2 separate regions of the Homo sapiens genome follow, and region 2 is linked to region 1. Evidence: promoter capture Hi-C in human tissues and cell types (Jung and others, 2019). All regions are on one chromosome and are shown on one strand. The core of a region is centred on a gene start or on the middle of the fragment in contact, and the rest is flanking DNA. Distances in the headings are between cores, read along the strand shown. Region 1 holds the start of SYNE1 (spectrin repeat containing nuclear envelope protein 1). Region 2 overlaps LOC105378061 (a long non-coding RNA gene).

Region 1 (4,993 bases), core at 2,090-4,589:
TAGCACAACTCAATTTTTTCTGTCTCTTGGCAGAATGGACATTGGCTCTTAAAGCAGTTTCTTGTTTGTGTGACTAAAAAGGAATACACTAAGAAAAGCACTGAAGAAATACTACTGAGCCACAAGAATATATATAAGCAATGCAACTGAATTTCTAGGTATTAGGAAACTACTGCAGAAAATTTCAAACCCTGCAATGACCAGAGACAACGTGGCTCATTTCTAACCAAAAAGAAAATGAACTGAGAACATAAACACATAAACAGATTCACAACAGCAGGAAGTACAGATATTAATTAAATGTCTAAACATGTATAAGAATAGCACTAATATTGAAACCCACTATTGAATAAAATTTTTAGTCATGAATAAATTTCAGTTTCCCTTCTATTCAAGTCTTTTGCTGAAGAGAGTTCACATACTGTTTAATTTTAAATTTAATTATTTTTTTCTCTATTCACCCATTAATAATGGTACTAATTAATGAATACTAAGATGGCTAAAAGAGAAGAACAGGGATATCTTTGAATTAATGTAAGTATATTACTAATAAATGTGTGCAGGTTATCAGGGAACAATGCTGTTTCTTATTCACTAGTATGAATTATACAGAGTAACAATAAGAAATGATCTTTTCCATAGAAGAACATGAACAAGTAAGCAAAAGACAAAGTGTATAGCAGAAATCAGCATGAAAGATGTTCAGTGTCATAATTAAATTTTGTTTATTGTAAGCCTAAAGTATAAATTACAACCAAAGACATCTGCAACCTTCTTTTTTTCCCTTGCTACAGTATATTGCACACCTTGCCAAACATTAGTTCTCGTTAGATTAGACCACAAAGAAGTACACATTTAAGAGGAGACACACAGAGGACCTCGCAGAGGCGTTTGGGCCCTGCATGCCTGTCACATTCAGACCACAGGGTGTGGCTGCAGTAGCTAGAGCTGGAGTTGTGAAAATGCCACCAACCTTGCCCAGTTATGGGCTTCCTACATCCTGTGACAGTCACACCTCCTTTCATTTCCAAGATGCTGTGTGTGCAGCATAGTTATCAGAAAGTAGGCCCAGTGCAGCACCAAACAATTCTTGAACATTTTTAAATGGCAAACTAGCTTTTTCCAATCTCCTCTCCCTGGCAGGAAGGACTCAAGTAAAAAAGAGTTCTTAAATGAGGTCAATGAGGACAGAAGAAAACCAGTTTGTGAAAATCATTAGTTCAGAAAGATGAAAGTGAGACTATAAAATAAGAGCTAGGCAAATATTTCCAAAGCCTAGCAAATATTGTTATCTGGGTCAGTCTGAAGCTGTTTCTTAATCTTCAGCATGAAACATATTAAGTTAGTATAGATCTCTCACATTTTGTTCTAAATCTGCCACAAAGTAATGAACAGAAAAGAAAAAATAGATATGTATTTTGTCACACTGTTCCGGTGATATCAGGAACTTTTTAGCCATACTACAAATCTTTTTTCACCATGGGGAATAAAAAGCCTCTCAAAGAACAATCGTCATGACTCGTGATTAAATTCGCATTTTATGAAGATGTAGGTCATATTAATGACCTTTGCCTCATTGAAAATTATTATACTTTCTCTTGCATAGGTCTGGCTTCTGTATACGAATGTTGTCTTTAGGAAAGTCATTCTCAGATGAAGACAAAAAATGGATGGGCATTAAAGAAGAGAAAAATAATTCATTTTTAACTTTCTTAACATTCACAGGAACATTTCAGATACAAGTTTTCCACCCCAAAACGAAAAGCTCAGAAATGAACATTGTGGGATGCTAAGGCTTCATTGCTGATATTTCCCTCTGGGCTGGACCTGACTCTATTTACGGAAGGGGGCAGAACTTCCAGCATCCAAAGTCTGGGATCCCAGTCAGCACACCCAGCCTGCCTTCCCAAGGGGCTTCTTCCTGTGCGGCTGATGGCTGCTTCGTTTTGCACGGATGCCTGCCCGTTGGGATGCACCTGGCCGCCTGTGCACCACCATTTCCCAGAACTCCTCCGCCAGCAATGCAAGATCTCTCTATGTGAAACGTATCTTTATAAAGAGGAGACGAAAGTTCTCTTGCCCTCTAGTGCAGGCTCTGCCGGGAAGCAACTGCACCATGACAGCGCCGCTGGAGTCTGACGCGCCAGGGCCTCCGCGCAGCCTTCAAGCCATTTCCCTCCCCCAGCCCTTCCTAAAATAGTCAGGGGGTGGAGGAAGGGAGGCTCCTAGAATCTGTTCAACGCCCTACCTCTCCCATCTGATAGTAGCAACAGTACCGACCATCACAATAAGAGGCTGGCTGCCTTTTGCTTCTGCACCATTGGAGCCCAGGAGATGTGCCACAAGCGGAAATGACAACTCAGAGAGGGGGATATTAATAGGGACATCTACGTACGAGATGCAAAGAGGCTCCCCAACCTCCTAGTCTCCTTATCTATGAGTATCGCACACGTACACACATCACTGCCACCACCCCCTCCCATCAAGCACGCAGAGCCCCAGCGTGCAGGCACAAACTTGCTGACAATTTGTCTGCAATGTGTTCGTCTTGCACCTCTCTCTCCTCTCCCTGTCTCTGTCTCTCCCTGTCTCCCAGTCTCTGTCTTTCCTTTTACCTTCTCTCTCGGCCTCGTTCAGTTTCCCAGCAGCAAGGCGAAGCGAGCGAACGCTTCCTCCCGGCTCTCTGCGCCCAGGCTCGGCGGGACCCCGGGGATGCGCGGCTGTCCGCCCGCCCTGTCGCCGGGATCGGGCGCGGTCTGCAGGACTGCGGGAGCCCAGCCGCCCTGGTGACAGAGGACAACAATCTCAGCCCGCTGCGGCCGGCGGCCGCGGCCCGGCGCCCGCGCTCACCCTGGCTGGCTCGCCCACACTCACTCCCGCGCCGGGCTGCTCAGCCGCGCTCCCCGCCCTCCGCGACCGGTTCCTCCTCCCGGCTGCTCGCTGGGGGGTGAGGCCTCCCCCTTCGCCCTCCCCCACGCATCTACTGCTCCTGTCGGGAAGGAAGGTCGCCCAGGCCGGTTCAGCCTCTGGGCAGGGTCCCTGCACCGCCCTGGCCCGCCACACCCCCTCCCCGGCTCCGTGCCCCGCGCCCCGCGCCCGGCTCCGGGATGCGCCGGTGCCTGGAAGAGCTGGGGGCGGGGACCCGGAGGCTCGCAGGCTTCCCTACCTCCTGGAGATGCACGGCCTTGGGCGTTTCTCCGCAGCTGCAAAGCTGTGCTGTGACCCACCCGCTCAGCGAGCCTTTATACCGGGACCACCTCCCGGGGGTCGAGGTGGGAAGGAAATGTCCCTGAGAGCCGGGACGCGCTGCCTCCGCTGCCTGGAGGAGCTGCGCTGTCCTGCCAGCTAACTTTTGCCCACGGTTTCCACTGCCCGGGTGACCTTTCTGAGCGGAACCTATCCTGAAAGGCTGGGAGGTTCCCTGATGGTCCCAGGAAGGGCGTGATGCAGAGCAAAGAGCAAAACCCGCTGGCTCCTTTTTCATCAACTTCCGAAAGATCCTAAATCGTTTTGGCTGCCAAGTCAGTAGCAAATAACTTAATTTGAGGGAGACTGGTCAGGCTTTATAGATCTTTTTTAATGTTATGTATAAAGTTTAGACTTCTTGAGAAAGCGCTTGACATCTTTAATTCTTGACTGTTTATTATGATGATTCTAAAAACCACTTTTAGGTTCTTCAGGTGCACTGTATGCACCCTGTACATTGCGGAGCCATTTGTATCTTTGGCCACAAGTCCTTCTCGTGGTGTAAGAGATCTTGGTGTTGCCTGGTAGCATTCAGGAGAATTTATTTTGTTGTGGTTTTATGGTATCCAGGCAAAGTCAAACACAGTCTCTCTTCACCAACAGTGAAGTCCAAGTCCAACAGGATGATTGCAGCTAAAATAATCGAAGCCATGTTGCAATAATCTTAAAAGTAATAATCCCCCCCTTGAATCTCCAATCTGAACAAAACAGTCATTTATCCTCTAAATTTGCTGAAAGGAAGGAGCAGTTTATAAAGTAGATGAAGTTTCTCTTTGCTGCCTGCCTTTCCCTTACCTGCTGCCAACATTCCCACTGCCTAGCTTTCCATTTTCTTCAAATTCTCCTTCTTCTGGATCGTGTCAAAATAATAACATCTGAAACAAATCTGGTAAACCAATCTGATGTGTTCCTCTTCTTTGTGCTGACTTTTGTTTTTTTTTAGAGAGAGAAACCAAACAATGGATCTCTATTTGCAGAACTTGCTACCTCCAAAAGTTGGGCCTGGAGGAGGAGTGTTTGGGATCACTCTCAATGTATGCCCTGCCTCTGCCTGAGGGCAACAATCCTGGGGCACCCCCAGAGCCCCTTGTGGAGACAACCACCAGAGCATAATTATTCCAGGTCAGCCCTCTGTGCCCAGTGGCCACAAAATGGGGTCCAGATTTCCAGGCTTGCCACTCAGAAGAAACAGATCAGAATGGCTCAGCTCACCCTCTCAATCCCTACCTTCATAGAATCAATCCACCCTGCCGGCTTTTGAAGATGGGTAGAAAGTTATTGTGCCAACTTTGCCATTCTTTTTGTTTGTTTGTTTGTTTGAGATGGAGTTTCGCTCTTGTTCCCCAGGCTGGGGTGCAATGGTGCAATCTCGGCTCACTGCAACCTCCGCCTCCCAGGTTCAAGCAATTATCCTGCCTCAGCCTCCTGAGTAGCTGAGATTACAGGGATGCGTCACCACACCTGGCTAATTTTGTATTTTTAGTAGAGACAGGGTTCCTTCATGTTGGTCAGGCTGGTCTCAAACTTCCGACCTCAGGTGACCCATCCAGCTCGGCCTCCCAAAGTGCTGGGATTACAGGTGTGAGCCACTGCACCTGGCCACCAACTTGCTATTCTACACGTTAAGCAACTACTTTCTTGGGTTTACTTACTTGAGAAGTGAGCCACTTAAAACACAAGCCTGAAACATTGCTTCCACCAACTAAAACTCCTCTACTAGGCCTAATCTCTGTTCTCACAGGCTGAG
Region 2 (4,454 bases), core at 1,359-3,858, 36 kb after region 1:
TGTTAAAAAGCCCCAGTCTTATATAAAAGGGCTGATTTGCTTTCCTTTCCAAACACCTTATCTCTTCCAGTGTCCAGGTTAAATTCAAGCAGCTGGTTTTCCCCATGGAATATACAGGCAATGCCTGAGATCCCTCCCTAGCTCTGCAGCTTTATCACATTGACTCCTTAATTCTCCATTATGGAAGCTTTGGCCACAGTGACATGTGACTCTTCTGTTCTCCATTACTGTGTTATCCTTCATATATGCCCCTCCTGGCAATTGAGGCACATGACTTTACAGGAGTGCCTTTTTGTGATGAAACTTCTCAGAGAGTGCACATTTTGGTCGTCAAAGCCAAACTTCTTACCATGAACAATATATACTAAATCTGGAGGGATTAAATATCTAATTCATCTTACTCATATTATGTGTTAAAAACAGTGGCACTTCAGTTTAGAAGAACATGCATAAGGTTAAAAACACACCAGAAGTAGATGTTCTGCAGCAGTTTTGCCTTCTTTTTTTCTCTTTAATCTTTTAGATTTATATGCTTCTCTAGCACAGGAAAAATAATTTTATAGAAAAGCTGTTTCCTCACAGTCTTGTAGTAAGAAATCATTTTCCCTTCCCTATTTGATTGTGTCATTATGTTTTCACATATCTTTCTGGTATATTTCCAGGAGGAACTGTATCTGAGATTATTTCTTCCTTTCTATTCTTGCATATTTGTGTCCTTCTTTATTATCTCTGTCTTTTCCGCTTCATACCATTTAAAATTCTCGTTATCCTCTTCCTGACTCACTGATTCCTTTGTGGTTATATATTTTCCTATCCTTGCTTGGTCATTTCCTCACTATTCTGTGATTACTATGATCACAAACATTTTTGGTGTGATACTATGAAAATGAACTGAGCTTATAAGATACGTTTTCTAGAAAATAAAGATTCACCTTTTATGCAAAAGTATGACTTGTGTCTGTGACCACCGACAGCTTTACTGTCTTCTCCTTTGTTAATTAATAAAAACAATAACAACCATAAGTTAATACCAACTATGTGTCAGGCACCATAGGAAGCACCTTTACGTATGTTATTTCTGATATTTATAAACTTCTTATGAGGCAAGCATTTTGCTACCTCATTTTGCAAATGAAGGAACAAAAGCTTAGAAACAAAAAGTAGTATGTCCAAGGTCAGTCAGCAGAGTTAAGATTAGAATCTAGACTTATGTGAGTCTGAATTTTGTGTTCTTCTCATGAGGTTACAGAGCCTTTCAATACTATAGAAGAATATTTCTACTATGTCATTGCTATTTTACAGAATACGGATAACCTCAAATACGTAATACATAATTTCATGGGTAACTTAAAAAAATCTGGTGATTATAAAACAGCACTGTCCAGTAGAGTTTTCTGTGCTGATGGAAATCTGTATCTATGATGTCCATATGGCAGCTGCTAGTTACAAGTGAATGAAAGCTTGCTAGCTACAAGCATATGAAGCATGACTAGCATTACTGAAAAACTGAATTTTAATTTAATTTAGTCTTAATTAACTTACATTTAAATGGACAAATATGGCCACCGTATAGGATAATGTGGTTATAGAATAAACAAGCTTTCTTGTGATTGTTTTATAATTATTCCAGTATTATAGCATCACCGGCCCACTTTCAGGTCTTCCGTTCCGCTCAGCCACTTTGAAACCATTGTTAGAAGGACAGAAAAAATGAATTCTTGACTGTATCCATAGTAATGAGTGTTAATGGCAATCACTTTGAAATGTCAATTTCTAAGAGCAATATTATGGCATCACAATGTATCTTTGTTCATGTCTAGCTTCTTTTCACTTAATGTGAAAAAGGTAACATTTTTGTCTTTAATTGAGACAATTAGCATCAAAGTGTAATGTAAAGGGTTTCCTTTAACACCACTACTTCACAGCTTATTTTCCTTGTTGCAGAGCATCATTTCTTTCTGTCTGTATGTTCCGTGGTTATATGGTGCAAAGAGGCTGAGGTTATACCTTCTACACCCTGGGTTATTATCTCCATGTCAAAAATTACATGTTAACATGTACAGATGCTCTTGGACTTACTCCAATAAACCTATCATAAGTTGAAAATATTGGCCGGGTGCGGTGGCTCACACCTGTAATCCCAGCACTTTGGGAGGCCGAGGCGGGCGGATCACGAGGTCAGGAGATCGAGACCATCCTGGCTAACATGGTGAAACCCCGTCTCTACTAAAAATACAAAAAAAAAATAGCCGGGCGTGGTCGTGGGCGCCTGTAGTCCCAGCTACTCGGGAGGCTGAGGCGGGAGAATGGCGTGAACCCGGGAGGCAGAGCTTGCAGTGAGCCGCGATGGCGCCACTGCACTCCAGGCTGGGTGACAGAGAGAGACTCCGTCTCAAAAAAAAAAAAAAGAAATAAAATTTAAAGTTATGTAAAAATATAGACCCACACAATACATCTCTATCTTATTGTAAAGTGTCCCTTATTTGATTCTTTTCTATTATAAAATTAGTCATTATGTTACAAAAACAATCCTCTAAAAGCTCCCTTAAATCATGAACTCCCAAGTGTTATTAAAAGATTACCATTATTTTTAAGGAAGCATATCTATTGCCTGTATGATACACCTAAAATTAGTTTGATGAGGGTTAATTCAGGTTATAATAATAAACCAGAGTTGTTTCAAGCAATAGTTTGCACTTCAGAGTGTTTAACACAATCTCAGTTAGGAGATGAAAAGTATTTGGAAATTGAGAACTTTGGATTTTTGGGGATTCATTACCCACTAATGTAAACTGTGTGTGATAAAAAAAAAAAAATCACTCCCAGTGGAATACATATCCACTGATTACACACACACTTTCAAGGATATTTCTCTACTGTGTCCTTCCCTGGAATTCCTCTCATAAGGGTGTGAACCAAGTAAGAGGAAATGAGTCTTTAATATGCTTAAAAACAACTACTTCAGCACTGGCTTGCATTTTGCTTTCAAAATTTCAATGACCAGTAAGAGACAGAGAAGAGACTGATGGAAGCAAAAGTCAGAGGAAAAAAAATTCATTATTATATTTACTATGGTACCTTTCCAAAGCTCAGACAGCATTTTTATTGATGACAAAAAAGTACATTCTGTAGACAACGCTATTGGGAACATTTTGTATCTGGACGATTTATCTGAGCCAGTTAGACATATGCTTCTACATGTCATCAATTCCCCTGGAACAAATTGGTATAATAAAGACGTATTTTTTCTTCCTATGGGAAAACGCAAACTATCTTCTTTATTGTTTACCTACATTTTTTCAAGGTAAAATTATTTTAAATTATTCAAAAGCATTAAATCATGCTACTATTCCCATGTAAAAATTAATAATATATGTTCAAATGTAACATTTACTGAAAACATTTTCTACCGTTGTTTTACTGTTTCCTTTTTCTCAGTTTCTACTAGTCATTTAATTTTCAGTGCTATTGCATAAATATAATTTCTACAAAGATACTGATTGAGACATTGAATAAACCCGTTTTGTCTCTGTTAAAGTCCACTACCATTGTTTCATTTTAAATAACTATCTTCTCATATTAATAGCCTGACATTTAAAAAATACACAAGAACTCACTATAATTAGATAATAATTACCATAAAATTAGGTCAAAATAATAGCTAGAATAGCTTAGAGATTTTCTAATACAAATTCTTTCATAAGACATTAATAATAGGACTTTGTGTATATCAGGCACTAATTACAGCTGCTGTATACTGACCTAATGATCGAAATGCTTTAAATGGGTCATTTCATTAGATCACTTCTCAGTTCTGTGTGATGAGTGTTATTGTCACCCCTATTAACAAATGAAGAAATTTAAATTCAGAGAAGCAAACATGGAGGAAAGAGTGGAAGGAATGAAAGAAGGAAATCAGTTGGCAAAGAACCAAGGATGTAAAATGCCAGTGATGTAGTCAAGACACGTGCCAGCTCCTAAAACAAGAATATAAACAGAATATAAACAGAAAAATCATAAATAGTGGTAGGCTGCTGGAAAACTTACTAATAACAGAATGCAAGTTTTAGCTAAAAACTAATTTTTGTTTATTAAACTTTAAGTTCTGGGATACATGTGCAGAATGTGCAGGTTTGTTACAGAGGTATACATGTGCCATGGTGGTTTGCTGCACCCATCAACCCGTCATCTATATTAGGTATTTCTCCTAATGGTATCCCTACACTAGCCCCCCAGTCCCCGACAGGCCCCAGTGTGTGATATTCCCCTCCCTGTGTCCATGTATTCTCATTGTTCAACTCCCACTCATGAGTGAGAACATGTGGTGTTTGGTTTTCTGTTCCTGTGTTAGTTTTCTGAGAATAGTGGTTTCCAGCTTCATCCATGTCCCTGCAAAGGACACGAACTCATCCTTTTTTATAGTTGCATAGTATTCCATGGTGTATGTGTGCCAC

The links. The method cuts DNA at HindIII sites, captures the fragments that hold promoters and counts their contacts. A contact is called where the count stands out against the background at its distance.
Region 2: a contact is called between a fragment that was not itself captured here and the fragment with the promoter of SYNE1 in region 1, in 1 of the 25 tissues and cell types used here (hippocampus).

The regions. Positions count from the first base shown.
Region 1 is chr6:152,634,023-152,639,015 of GRCh38, forward strand. It overlaps SYNE1 (spectrin repeat containing nuclear envelope protein 1), which reads right to left and starts at 3,340. Exons shown (of 146, transcript NM_182961.4): 1 at 3,167-3,340; 2 at 2,616-2,783. RefSeq lists an enhancer at 838-967. The HindIII fragment of the contact is 20,643 bases long and covers 1-4,993 here.
Region 2 is chr6:152,670,539-152,674,992 of GRCh38, forward strand. The region is part of intron 4 of LOC105378061 (a long non-coding RNA gene); the gene reads left to right. Among named protein-coding and RNA genes, the nearest start is that of MYCT1, 25 kb to the right of the region's middle. The HindIII fragment of the contact is 3,884 bases long and covers 667-4,454 here.